Regions from separate parts of the Homo sapiens genome. Here region 1 is linked to region 2. Evidence: promoter capture Hi-C in 16 types of primary human blood cells and fetal thymus (Javierre and others, 2016). All regions are on one chromosome and are shown on one strand. Each heading gives the region's core, a stretch centred on a gene start or on the middle of the fragment in contact. The rest is flanking DNA. Distances are from core to core; before and after follow the strand shown.

Region 1 (7,186 bases), core at 3,785-6,284, 360 kb after region 2:
CTGGGGTCACTGTGGCAGCCGCTCTGGTTGGAGGGTGCAGGACACTGCCCAGGCCCCACACAGGACAAGGCCTTCACCTCCCGTGCGGCAGGGTCTTTCTGTACCTGTGGCCCTGTGCTGTATGCACCTGCCCTGAAGGCTGTGTGGTGGGGACGGCAGCGTGCTGGTCTCTCCTGCTGCGGCCACGTCACCTGCACCCACACCTCCAGCAAAGCAGCTAGCGGGTACAGGCGCACAGCGGCACTGGAGGATGAGGCGAACCTCCGGGGGACAGCAGAGCTCTCAGGCGCCCTCTGGGCCCAGCAGCTGCTCACGGCCGGCCATCTTCCTGGGGGCAGTTTCATGGCCTCCTGGCACAGCCGGTCCTGTCTTGCGGGTAGTCCCTCATGAGGCCTTCCTTGGCCTGAAGACCCCCACCTGCTCCCTACCCTTGACAACCAAGAATGGGGTCCAGTCCTTTTCCCTGAAAGTCTGCCCATGGTAACTGCCCCTCATTTTCTATTGATGTTAATACTGGCAATGGGAATCAGATGGAGACTGTTTTTCTGTGGGCTACAGGGGCTTACAAACTGAGGCTACTTGGTTCACTGTTGAATGATGGGCCCTGGAGGCCCAAGCTCAGTGTGCTGGGGGCTCCAAAGATGCAAATCCCAAAGCCCATCCCTCAGAATTTGGTGCAAGGTTGGCTGAGAGCCCAGACCTGCACTTCAGTGGGACCTTGGGGTCAGAGACCACTGAGGAGACACTGCCTGCAGTCACTCTAGGGCAGGCTTTTTAAGTCACAAAAATTATTTCTTGCTTTTCTTAACGTTAACAGAGTAACACAGATTTTAACTTATTTTACTGAATCTGACCCCAGAGTCTCAGCCATCAGCACCAGGCTGCAGTTTCTGCTGACGGGGGAGGTGCTATGGTGGGTGCTCCCCTGCACTCTGCCCACGGATGGAGATGACTCAGGTGGACAGAAGAGTGAGCTGCTCGACTGCCCTGGAGCCTGTGTCTGCTTAGCTGGGGACCTGAACGCGCTGGAGTCTGTGACTCACCAACAGGGGATTATGTGCGCCACAAGCACCGAAAGCATTTTCGTCCCTCTGGTACGCGGGTCGAGACATCAGCCGTTCCAAAAAGGACACGTTCAGCCCATAGGCCATGGCGAGTCTGGACTTAATGACTGGGCCGAGCTGCATGGGGTCTCCTGCCAGCACGATCTGCACACAGAGGGCCCGTCTCAGCTCATGCAGGGAGGGTGCCGCTGCCACTCCTACGGGCTCAGGTGGGAATGGGGCTGTGCGCAGGATGGCCCCATGCTCACTCTTGCTGCAGGGGACGACGGGAGGGACTGGGAGACCAGGGAATGCCGACAGGGCTTGGAGCCGTCTCTCCCCGCTTCCCCCTGAAGTCCTGCCATCTGCCTCCCCGAAGTCCTGCCATCTGCCCGGCTTCTGCAGCCTGGTTTTCTCTCCTGCGAATCTCTCAAAGTGGTAAGAGCCCCAAGGATGCCGTCTATCTTCTGGAAGCTTCTGCATGGCTGGCCCTGGCCGCCATCCCACCTGCCCCTTGCCTCTTGCCCATGGTTGCCTTGACCTGGTCAGGCCGCCCTATGCCGCTGCTCTGCCTGGACCAGTCCCTGCTCCCTCCCTAGGCGTCACCTTCATGCTCCGCCCCACAGTGCCTGGTGACTGGGACAGACATCTAGGATGGGTGCCAAGGAGGACCCTGAAATGTCCAGTGCTGGACACTGGATGAGCTCGCCTGGATGAGCCACAGTGAGAGAACCAGGGAAGTTCAAGGTGATGCCCACGCCACCATCAGAAGCACTCGGGGAGGAAGCAGGTGGGAGCAGAGAACAGAGGATGCACAGAGCTGGAGGCCAGGGCAGCCTGAGGGGCAAGTGGGTCAGATGCAGGAGCACTGGCCCTGTCCGCCCCTCCAGGCACTGAACGGCCGGCTCACCCAGAGCAGGGACCACATTCCTGACTTTACCGCTGTATCCCCAACACCTAGAATGGCTCTTACCTCCGTTTTACAAGTAAATGAGTCAAGACATTCACTTCTAGTCCAAAAGGAATAAAGTACAATAGAGACCCATGGCCCCCAACACCTCGGGGTCCTTGGCACTTCCACCTGACCCCTGTACAGCTGTGACTGTTCCCGGCAGGATCGCAGCCTGCATCCCCTCAGGAGAACGGGGTGAGGAGGAAGCAGCACACACAGTAGTCGGGACTTACCTGGCCACTGATGTCCGACATCAGCCCCAGAGGAATGAGGCATTCCGGCTCACTTGCCTGCCCAGCCTCGTCCACAAACACGTGAGTGAAGTGCCCAACTCTAGAGCAAAGATGTTCTAAATGGTAATTTCTGCCGAATTGTTTTAGCAATTGATGCCTCTGACACACTGGCAAAGCCACGCTCAGCACCCCGGGGGCACAGCAGGGTTGCCCAGGGGTGTGCAGGAGCTGGGGGTCTGGGTGTCACCCGGCTGGAGGGAGGACAGGCCACAGGTGTCAGGAGATGCTAAGCCACATCAGCACCCAGTGCTTTGCACGCAGCGTCTGTATTTCTAGAGATGTGGAGGGAAGAAGGGGTGGGAGCGATGGGCAACACACGAGCGCCTCCTGGGGGCAGCTCACAGGAGAAGCGCCGCAGGCTCCTGGCCTGCTCTCCACCTGCGTCTCACTCCTGTCATTATCAAAATGCCCAGGCTCTAGTCCTGACTTCCCCTCTCTGAGCCTCCACCTCCCACGTGTCTCTCGGGAGGTGGCTGAGGTGAGAGCAGCTGAACTGGCCGCTGTAAAGCGCTGAGAACAGGCCTGGCCATGCAGGCGGCCACAGATGGCAGCCTCTCCTGCCATCCGCTCATTTCCTCCTGACTCATCCTTGTGAGCCACTCTCAGCTGGGCACTGCCTGGCCTGCATGCCAATAGGCTGAGGCCCTGGGAGCCACTTCCCAATCTGCGGCACCATTAAGAAAATGGGGTTGGTCGGGCGCAGTGGCTCACGCCTGTAATGCCAGCACTTTGGGAGGCCGAGATGGGTGGATCACGAGGTCAGGAGATCAAGACCATCCTGGCTAACACGGTGAAACCCCGTCTCTACTCAAAATACAAAAAAATTAGCCGGGTGTGGTGGCGGGCGCCTGTAGTCCCAGCTACTCGGGAAGCTGAGGCAGGAGAATGGCGTGAACCTGGGAGGCGGAGCTTGCAGTGAGCTGAGATCGCGCCACTGCACTCCAGCTTGGGTGACAGAGCAAGACTCCATCTCATAAAAAAAAAAAAAAAAGAAAAAAAGAAAATGCGGTCTCTAGAATGGCTCCCCACAATTCTGGCCCCTGCTGCAAACTCAGTGAGGTTCCCAGCTACAGAGCAGCCCTCCTGGCGGGTACCTGTCCGGCTCTTCCTTCTCCGTGTGACAAGGGAGGTAAGGGAGGTGCAGGAGCAGAGAGTCCACAGCGTTGCTGATGGACGGGGTGGGGATTTTGCGGGAAGGAGTCGTCAGGAGAAGCTGCGGAACTCTTGCATGGGAAGGCTGTGGGACTGAGCGGAGAGCAGGAGCTCGCTCGGCACATGATCTGTTTCTAGAGTGCAGAGGGGCCACCCCACCTGGGGCCATGAGCTGAGGAACAGGTGCCCCGGCTTCCCTGGCTCGCCCACCCCAGCAGCTTCTGCTCTGTGGTCAGGAGGCCTCAGTGGGGAAATGCTCTTGGGGCAGAAACATGTCCTGATGCCTGAGGAAGCAGGTATGGGGCAGAGAGAGTGTCCGGAGCCACGCCAACACTCAACAGGACGCACCTTGGGCCCGCACCGTCCTCACTGCCGAGCCCACGTTTACCCTTCTCACTGCTGATTCCAGGATCTCCCCTCTCCAACCCTAGATGCTGGGCAAATCCATCACCTCTGAGCCTCAGGTGTCCCACTGTGGGGTGAGACCCTGTGGTCAGACCTGTGCGGGGGCGGGCTCCTGCTTACAGCAGTGCTGGGCCCAACATGTCCTGCATCCACTCACGGTCAGCTGACACCTTTCACTTCAGGTATCAATGTGTAACTCTCAAGACACGGATTTCACAAGTGACACCGTGAACCCCTCCCAGTGAAAGATGTGGAAATCAGCAAACTGCCATTTCCCCATCTCATGTCCCTATTTCTGTTGAAAAAAATTAACATTATGTATCTTTCCTAGAATGTAAGTATTTAGGTTTCAATTCTGTATTAATTGCAGTTATTTAATGTCACTTTTGCCAGATGACATTGCTACTTCTTTGCCCTTTGAAGTGCCCCTCCCCACTCCAGCCGCCCCCAGTGGCCAACTAACGCTGTGGGGCCTCTGCAGCTGGGCTGCAGCACCCTCCCTGCTTCTGCACAGAGCGCCTCTGAGAGAGCGGCCTGCAGCACCCTCCCTGCTTCTGCACAGAGCGCCTCTGAGAGAGCGGCCTGCAGCACCCTCCCTGCTTCTGCACAGAGCGCCTCTGAGAGAGCGGCCTGCAGCACCCTCCCTGCTTCTGCACAGAGCGCCTCTGAGAGAGCGGCCTGCAGCACCCTCCCTGCTTCTGCACAGAGCGCCTCTGAGAGAGCGGCCTGCAGCACCCTCCCTGCTTCTGCACAGAGCGCCTCTGAGAGAGCGGCCTGCAGCACCCTCCCTGCTTCTGCACAGAGCGCCTCTGAGAGAGCGGCCTGCAGCACCCTCCCTGCTTCTGCACAGAGCGCCTCTGAGAGAGCGGCCTGCAGCACCCTCCCTGCTTCTGCACAGAGTGCCTCTGAGAGAGCGGCCTGCCCTGGCCGGCCACCTCCTCCCACTACCTGAACATCAGCTCCAGGGTGCAGGGTCCATGCAGTGCCCGCTCTGCCCCCAAAGAGCCCTCTGCACCCCAGTGAGGACTGGCTCTTCGGCTCTTGACCTTTGACTCATCAACACACATTAACAAAAAAAATCCCTGTCTTGTTCAGATCCGTGCTGTCCAATCCGGTAGCCACACACGGCTCTCGGGCACCGCACAGTGGCTAGTCTGAAACCTGACATGCTCTAAGTGTAAAATACATGGTGGATTTTGAAGACTTGAACCAAAAAAAATGTAAAGTGTCTCATCAATCACGTTCTACTAATCTCATGATGAAAGGACATCATGTATGTGAGAGAGTTAAACGCGCCGATGAAACCATCCGTGACACGCTGTGATAGGCGTGGCTGGCTGTGCCTTTGCTCCATGTGGAGCTGACGGACCACCTCCTGTGGTCACCCTCACGACCACCGTGACGCTGGACACTGTCCAGGGTGACCTGTCTCCAGGCTGTCAGGGAGGGTCACGACCACTGTGACGCTGGACACTGTTCAGAGCGACCTGTCTCCAGGCCGTCAGGGAGGGTGGGGCTTCCCTCAGAGGCCCTGGCTTCTCCCTCTCTCACCCTCAGCCTGTGCCCCCGACACTGTCTGGCTCTATGCACTGAGAGGGAGCTGCCTGCTGCCTCCCCGACCCCACCCCCCTGCACTGGGGTCTGAGAGTGCCTTGGTCCTCACTCAGCCTCCCTGGGCTCGAAGCTCTTCCTCCCAGCCCCCAGGGGAGGTCCTCCTATGACAGCCGGCACCCCACAATCCATCTCCTCCGCCTGTCTCCCCTGAAGAGCCCCCAGCGCCAGGGACACAAATGGCCCCCAGGGTCTGACCTTACAGAGCCCAGCCGTTTCCTAGGCAGCCTGCCTCCCCACGCCCACTCCAAGAGACTCACTCTCCTGCTCAGAAGCCCTTCACTGGCTTCCCGGCTCACCAGAGGTCGTCCAAAGGCCCCTCCACAGCCCGCCAGGCCTCCCCCTCACCACCCCTTTCAGGCCGTTCCTGCTCACGAGGCTCTGGCTCTACAGTCTCCTTTGGGGAGACCTCAGTGCTCCCCCACCGCGGGGCCTCTGCATGGGCCAGTCCATCTGCCTGCCCATCCCACTGCTGGCTCCTTCGAGTCCTTGGGGTCTCGGCTTCCCCAGCTCCATTCAGGCACGGCCCTCCCCAACCAGCCTTTCTCGCCCACAGCCCTGCCTCCCTCCCTGAGCACTGAGTCTCTGGGTCATCCGCCCCTCAGACAGAAGCTAGGAGAGGACTCCGACCTCTGCCCTGGGAGGCCCCATGCCGCGCTCCATGCCCGGGGCTCACCTCACTCCTATTTGGTAAAACAGCCCTGAGCTGCTGCATGTGGTGATGATTATCCGGAAGCGTGAGGCTTTCCAGATGTCTTCTCCGTCTCTGCAATACGGTTTGACGGCGTCAATAACTATCTGGGGGCAAGGAGGCGTAGAGTTAGTTTACTCCTCCAATTATTAAGCAGAATTCCAAAAGGGAACCTTGCCCTGGTACCACTTCTTAGTTACGTCTAAGTCATGATTTAAGGTTTTTTTCTCAAAATATCTCATACTTCCTTATCAATTCAGTCCATGTTTTATCAACTCTAGAGCCACAAATATAACACATAATCCTGCAGACCCTTCCCCAAAACAACTTTGTACATTTTCTATTCAGTTTGTTTGTTTGTTTATTTAGAGAGGGAGTCTTGCTCTTGCTCTGTCGCCCAGGCTGGAGTGCAATGGTGCAATCTCGGCTCACTGCAACCTCTGCCTCCCAGGTTCAAGTGATTCTCCTGCTTCGGCCTCCGGAGTAGCTGGGATTACAGGCGCATGCCACCACGCCCAGCTATTTTCAATGTCTTTTTTAAACGCAATATTTCAGGCTGGGCACAGTGGCTAAAGCCTGTAATCTCAACACTTTGGGAGGCAGAGGCGGGTGGATCACTTGAGATCAGGAGTTCGTGACCAGCCTGACCAACATGGTGAAACCCTGTCTCTACTAAAAATACAAAATTAGCTGGATGTGGTGGCACACACCTGTAATCCTAGGTACTTAGGAGGCTGAGGCAGGAGAATTGCTTGAACCCGGGAGGCGGAGGTTGCAGTTAGCCAAGATCACACCACTGCACTCCAGCCTGGGCAACAAGAGCAAAAACTCTGTCTCAAACAAACAAAAAAATAAAAGCAATACTTCGCTCTATAACCAAACCAGCAACTTAAAGGAATACTTAAAACCAAACCAGGCCGGGCACGGTGGCTCACGCCTGTAATCCCAGCACTTTGGGAGGCCGAGGCGGGCAGATCATGAGGTCAGGAGATCGAGACCATCCTGGCTAACACGGTGAAACTCCGTCTCTACTAAAAAT
Region 2 (7,038 bases), core at 4,070-6,569:
ACCCGTCTTCCCATGACAGAGGAAGTCCTACCATAGTGGGGATTATCATTTGCTTTGCTTGGCACTATTTTTTCAAAGTTTAACATGGTTCTTGGCACACAATTCACAACTAACAACAATGAATAAATAAATGGATAAAAGAGAGTAGGATCATGACAGTACTAGAAGAACATTCTGGCCAGTGCAATGGCTCACACCTATAATCCCAGCACTCTGGGAGGCCAAGGCAGGTGGATCACTTGAGCTTGGGAGTTTGAGAACAGCCTGGGCAACACAGTGACACCCCATCTCTACCAAAAATACAAAAAATTAGCCAGGTGCGGTGGCACATGCCTGCAGTCCCAGCTACTTGGGAGATGGGAGGATCACTTGAGCCTGGGAGATCGAGGCTGCAGTGAGCCATGATTGCACCACTGCACTCTAGCCTGGGCAACAGGGCAAGAACCTATCTAAAAAAAAAAAACAAAAAAAAAAAAACAAAGGACAAAAAAAAGAAAAAGAACATCATGGTAGTGTGTGGAAAATGACAGAAGGAAAAAGATAATACTAGAAACCAGGAAATCAGGACTTCAAGCTGCAGAGGTTTGGAAGAGCAGACATAAGAAAGCAGGAAGGGAGCTGACCAAGCCAGGAAGGAGATTTACCAAGTGAACAGGTGTCCTCATGGACCCTGCTTGATGTGAAAACCTGAATCCACAGGAGCTCTGCCCAGCACAGTTCCCCGTATTTTCTCAGCCAACTATGCATGAGAGCAGAGAAGTTTGGTCATCAGATCACATGTGCATTTAACAAACACTTTAACGTCCACACCTATGTGCCAGGCACTCTACTAAGCAGACAAAAGAGGGCATAAGTATGGTCCCTGCCCTGGCAGAATTCACATTCTAGGGTGGAGACAGGCCACAAACAGGTAAATGAGTTGAAGAATGGCTTGTGGCCAGTCGCAGTGGCTCACACCTGCAATCCCAGCACTTTCAAAGGATGAGGTGGGCGGATCACGAGGTCAAGAGTTCAAGACCAGCCTGGCCAACATGGTGAAACCCCATCTCTACTAAAAATACAAAAATTAGCTGGGGCCAGGCACGGTGGCTCACACCTGTAATCCCAGCATTTTGGGAGGCCGAGGCGGGTGGATCACGAGGTCAGGAGACCAAGACCATCCTGGCTAACATGGTGAAACCCTGTCTCTACTGAAAAATACAAAAAAATTAGCCAGGCGTGGTGGCGGGCGCCTGTAATCCCAGCTACTGAGGAGGCTGAAGTAGGAGAATGGCGCGAACCCAGGAGATGGAGCTTGCAGTGAGCCGAGATTGTGCCACTGCACTCCAACTTGGGCCACAGGGCAAGACTCTGTCTCAAGAAAAAAAAAAAAATTAGCCAGGCGTGGTGGCAGGCGCCTGTAATCCCGGCTACTCAAGAGGCTGAGGCAGGATCGGACGCGGTGGCTCAGGCCTGTAATCCCAGCACTTTGGGAGGCCGAGGCGGGTGGATCATGAGGTCAGGAGATCGAGACCATCCTGGCTAACACGGTGAAACCCCGTCTCTACTAAAAAAATACAAAAAATTAGCCGGGCGTGGTGGCGGGTGCCAGTAGTCCCAGCTACTCGGGAGGCTGAGGCAGGAGAATGGTGTGAACCCAGGAGGTGGAGCTTGCAGTGAGCCGAGATTGCACCACTGCACTCCAGCCTGGGCGACAGAGTGAGACTCCGTCTCAAAAAAAAAAAAAAAAAAAAAAGAGGCTGAGGCAGGAGAACTGCTTGAACCCAGAAGGTGGAGGCTGCAGCAAGCTGAGATTGCACCACTGCACTCCAGCCTGGGTGACAGAGTGAGACTCCATCTCAAAAAAAAAACATATAAATAAATAAAATTTTTTTTGGCTGGGCGCGGTGGCTCATGCCTGTAATCCCAGCACTTTGGGACACCGACACGGGCGGATCACCAGGTCAGGAGATCGAGACCATCCTGGCTAACACGGTAAAACCCCGTCTCTACTAAAAATACAAAACATTAGCCGGGTGTGGTGGCAGGTGCCTGTAGTCCCAGCTACTCGGGAAGCTGAGGCAGGAAAATGGCGTGAACCCAGAAGGCAGAGCTTGCAGTGAGCTGAGATCATGCCACTGCACTCCAGCCTGGGCGACAGAGTAAGACTCCATCTCAAAAAAAAAAAAAATTTAAATGGTTTATGATAAACATTCTAAAGTGTGTAAGGTGCTGAGATGGAGAGGACTATTTTAGATAGGGTGGTCAGCTGACATTTACACTAAGACCTTAAGAATGAAAAGGACTCAGTCAGCCAGGCGTGGTGGCTCACGTCTGTAATCCCAGCACTTTGGAAAGAGGCAGAGCTGGCTGGATCACCTGAGGTCAGGAGTTTGAGACCAGCCTGGCCAATGTGGCGAAACCCATCTCTACTAAAAATACAAAAATTAACTGGACGTGGTGGTGCATGCCTGTAATCCCAGCTACTCGGGAGGCCAAGGCAGGAGAATTGCTTGAACCTGGGAGTCGGAGGTTGCAGTGAGCCAAGATTCTGCCATTGTACTCCAGCCCGGGCAACAGAGCAAGACTCCATCTCAAAAAAAGAAAAGAAAACAAACTCAGTCATTGAAAGAATATTCCCAGCCAGGTGTGGTGGTGCACAGCTATAGTCCCAGCTACCTGAGAAGCTGAGGCAGGAGGACTGCTTGAGCACAGCAGTTTGAGACCAGCCTGGGCAACACAGTAAGATCCTCCTCTCTGATTTTTTTTTTCTCCTTTTCCTTGCCATATGAAGTCCCTCTTTATTTAAAAACAAAAAAGAGGCCGGGCGCGGTGGCTCACGCCTGTAATCCCAGCACTTTGGGAGGCCAAGGCAGGCGGATCACGAGGTCAGGAGATCGAGACCATCCTGGCTAACACGGTGAAACCCTGTCTCTACTAAAATACAAAAAAATTAGTTGGGCGTGGAGGCGGGCGCCTGTAGTCCCAGCTACTGCAGAGGCTGAGGCAGAATGATGTGAACCCAGGAGGCGGAGCTTGCAGTGAGCTCAGATCGCGCCACTGCACTTCCGTCTCAGAGTGAGACTCCGTCTCAAAATATATAAATAAATAAATAAAAACAAAAAAGAAGATTCCCAAGTGGGGGCAGAAAGCATGAAGATCTTCCACCAAGAAAAAGCTTGGAGGGGCCATAGGTTGACTGGTTCAAAAGAACAAGATACAAAACAGCCCAAAATGAGGCTAAAATGGAGAGCAGAGCCAGGTTCAGAGAAGGAAATTTGGGTTTTATTCTGGGCATAATGGAAAGCCACTGAGGGGTTGATTTTAGGCAGAAAACAGTGCTGTGGCCAGATTTTAATTTTTAAGAGTCACACTTGCTGCTGGTTGGAGCACGAATTGGACGGGACAAAAACAGGGATAAGGGAACCCAAATAGGAAGGTTTTACACAAATCCAGGCCAGAGACAATGGTGGCCTAGACCAAATAAAATGGACAACAGATGAATTCAAGTGATATTCCGGTGGTATAACTGATGGAATTCATGGATGAACTGAGTGTTAAGCATGGGGCTTCACTATAGCCACATTTAGCTTTTGCTTTTGGTTGAACAGCGGTGTCATTTTCCGAGATGGGAAAAGCTGGGGTTTAAGCAGAAAAATGAAGAGTTCCACTTTAAATATGTTAAATGAGATGTTTGCGTGACACCCACTAGATGTCAAGAGAGCAGCTGGATATGTAAAGTAGATTTGGAGGAAAGATCTAGGATGGAGCTGCAGATCTGGTAGTTGTCCTAATACAGGCAATATTTAAAATCATAGAAATAAATGACACTTCAGGGTAAATGCATCAGAAGATGACCTAGGCCCCATCCTGAGGAACTCAACACTTAGAGACTGGATAGAAAAGAAAAATCAGGCAATGAAATAGGGAAAAAAAATCCTACCACCATGTTTCAAAAAGAAAGGAGTGGCCAGTCCAACAAATGCTGACTTATGTCCCTTGGATTTGGTAGAATGGAGATCACTGCTGATCAAGACAAGAAACATTTAAGTGTCGTGGACGCCAGACTGAGCTGGGCTGAGGAGTAAAAATGAAGCGCAAATATGGAGCAGACAGCTTAACACAGGTCTAGACAGGGCTGTCAAACATGGAAGAAACACTAATCGCTAACAGGATAGAGCATGGCAATAGCTTGAAATTGGTTTGAAAATCCAAGATAAAAAATTCCTCTGACATCGTGATCCAGACCTCTCAAACACACAAGCATGCTCGCAATAACTGCAATAAAAGCAATAATGCTTTCTAGTCTATTCCACTACGTTAGAGAAACGGCTGGTCACCACCCACTCAATCATTCACGGCTCGCTGACGGGTAGAAACCTGCAATGACAGGTCCACGCTAATCCAACAAGGGATGATTTGGGGAGGCAGAGATGGAGTTTGAAAAGAAGCAGGGAGCCCGAGGACCTGCGCGGCCAGAGCGCCAGATAGCCATAGGCGTGGAGACGGTGGGGCGCCCACAGCCCCGGGCCCGGAGCCCCCGCCCCGCAGCCCCACCCGCCGGCCCACCCCGCGTCACTCCCCCGCCGCCCTTACCTCCTCCAGATACTCGCCCAGCTGGGCCGCCACGTCCACCTCCCAGTTCTTGGTGAGGTCGCGGATGGGCTGCAAGAGGTGGGCGAAGCGCGCCTCCACGTCCTCCATGTCCGGGAGGGAACGGGCGGCAAAGGGACCGCAGGGCTGCCTTCCGAGGGGTACGGCGTCCTCAGCCCGCCACTAGTTCTGGCGCCATTTTGCTGTTCCCGCCCAGGAAAATGCGTAGGCGCGGCGTCGCGCGCATGTCTATGACGTAACGTGGGCAAAAGCCAGAGAGGCGAACCCCGGCGCCGCGCAGCGGGAGCTCACCGGAAGAGTCGCGGGGCGGGGTCGAAGCCTCCGGGAGGGGGGGGTGGGCGGAGCTTTGGGCTGCCACCAGTTTGGACGGGAGGGCTTTTGGGGCCGCCGTGGGTCGGGCGGGGCGGGGTGGGGCGGGGCCTGGAGCTGCCGCGGGCGAGCGGGCCGAGGAGGCGGGGCTTGGGGGCTGCCACGGGTTGGGGGGGCGGGGCGGTGAGGAGGCGGGGCCTGGGGCAGCCGCGGGCGGGCGGACGGGCCGAGGAGGCGGGGCTTGGGGCTGCCACGGGTTGGGCGGGCGGGGCGGTGAGGAGGCGGGGCCTGGGACTGCCGCGGGCGGGCGGGCGGGCCGAGGAGGCGGGGCTTGGGGCTGCCACGGATTGGGCGGGCGGGGCGGTGAGGAGGCGGGGCCTGGGGCTGCCGCGGGCGGGCGGACGCGGAGGGCGGGCCCTGCTCTAGCGGGCCGCGTAGCGGACATGGCGGGCTCCCGGCTCCCGCGGCAGCTCTTCCTCCAGGGCGTGGCGGCCGTCTTCATGTTTGCTTTCGCTTCCCTCTACACGCAAATCCCAGGTGAAGGCACCCAGGGTGGGACACCCCCAGCCTCGGCGCGGGACCCTATGTCCTCTTTTCTCTGTGCCCGGCACTCACGCAGTCCGGGGTTGGGAGTGAGGGCCAGGCCTTGGCGTGGGGTAGGGGGCGGCGGTTCGTGTCCTGCAGGCCGCTGTGGGGGTAGGAAGGTGTGCGGTGATCCATTTCCCGTAAGGCTCTGGACTCTGACCTGGGGTGGGGGACAGAACTCTGAGAGAGGTGGGAGAGAGGCTTCCTCCCAGACCTGGTGGGACAGGTAGGAGATCGGGCTGAGACCTGGAAGAGGGCAGTGGGCTCTGCTGGGTGGGAGGCCCTGACTCAGGTAGTTGAGCAGGCCTCTAGCCCTGGGACGGGGTTTTGACAGGTCCCGACCTGGGGGACGGGCTCTGGAGGGACTGCAGACTCTGACCTAGGGATGGAGGTATCCGCATGCTCTGACCTAGGCTGGGGGATCTGCAGGCCCTGACTCAGAGGTAGTCTAGTCTGCAAGGGCTGTCCAGGGCCTGGCCATGACATGCCCTCCCACAGGCCTGTATGGCCCCGAGGGCATCCTACCTGCAAGGAGGACGCTGCGGCCTCAGGGCAAGGGGCGCTGGCAGCAGCTGTGGGAGACCCCGACGCTGCTGTGGGAAGCGCCGAGACTGGGGCTGGACACGGCCCAGGGCCTGGAGCTGCTGAGCCTGCTGGGTGCACTAGTGGCCCTGGGAGCCCTGCTGCTGAGCCCACTGCGCCACCCTGTCATCTACTTGCTGCTTTGGGCCGCCTACCTGTCAGCCTGCCAGGCAAGTGGGACCTGTGACCAGCTCACTCTATCTCCAACCCCCACCACCCACCCCTGCCTCTACCTTACCTGAGTCCACAGACACACCCGCTCCCTGACAGCCCCTCTCTCCGCAGGTGGGCCAGGTGTTCCTTTATTTCCAGTGGTGAGTGACGGCTGGGCCTGGGGCTGTGGGAGGCTGGGTAGGGGGTGGGGGAGGGCTCTGCCCTTCCTGGGAGGACTTTCCGAGGGAAGCAGCTGTGTGGGGAGGGGCTCTTGGTGCTATTTGCTCTCCCCATAGGGACTCCCTGCTGCTAGAGACTGGCTTCCTGGCCGTGCTGGTGGCCCCGCTGAGGCCAGCCTCCCACCGCAAGGAGGCCCCCCAGGGCAGGCAGGCAGGGGCCCTGCCCCACGAAGACCTCCCCTTCTGGCTGGTGCGATGGCTGCTGTTCCGCCTCATGTTCGCCTCAGGCGTGGTCAAGCTGACCAGCCGCTGCCCTGCGTGGTGGGGGCTCACTGGTGAGGGGCCCGGTCTGGACCTGGGGTAGTCTGGGGGCTCGGCCAGCCCTGACTCCTGCCCTCGCCTGCAGCCCTCACCTACCACTACGAGACCCAGTGCCTGCCCACGCCCGCCGCCTGGTTCGCACACCACCTGCCGGTCTGGCTGCACAAGCTCAGCGTGGTGGCCACCTTCCTAATTGAGATCGCTGTGCCGCCCCTGTTCTTCGCCCCCATTCGACGCCTGCGCTTGGCTGCTTTCTACTCGCAGGTGGGTGAGGGCCGCAGCTGTCAGAGAGAGGCAGACAGGGCTCGGCCTTCAG

Evidence for each region. Contacts are between HindIII fragments. The CHiCAGO score rates a contact against its expected background, and 5 or more counts as called.
Region 1: a contact is called between a fragment that was not itself captured here and the fragment with the promoter of LMF2 in region 2, in 5 of 17 cell types (monocytes, M0 macrophages, fetal thymus and 2 more). The highest score is 6.9, in monocytes.

What each region holds. Positions count from the first base shown.
Region 1 is chr22:50,144,757-50,151,942 of GRCh38, reverse strand. It overlaps MOV10L1 (Mov10 like RNA helicase 1), which reads right to left. Exons shown (of 27, transcript NM_018995.3): 19 at 6,133-6,254; 20 at 2,229-2,328; 21 at 1,044-1,208. Among named protein-coding and RNA genes, the nearest start is that of PANX2, 22 kb to the left of the region's middle. The HindIII fragment of the contact is 7,030 bases long and covers 1,520-7,186 here.
Region 2 is chr22:50,505,983-50,513,020 of GRCh38, reverse strand. It overlaps LMF2 (lipase maturation factor 2), which reads left to right and starts at 5,319. Exons shown (of 14, transcript NM_033200.3): 1 at 5,319-5,439; 2 at 5,986-6,239; 3 at 6,355-6,383; 4 at 6,519-6,736; 5 at 6,808-6,986. The coding sequence starts at 5,346. It overlaps NCAPH2 (non-SMC condensin II complex subunit H2), which reads right to left and starts at 4,797. Exons shown (of 20, transcript NM_152299.4): 1 at 4,576-4,797. The coding sequence starts at 4,683. RefSeq lists silencers at 4,259-4,548, 5,219-5,318 and an enhancer at 5,539-5,588. The HindIII fragment of the contact is 8,515 bases long and covers 3,160-7,038 here.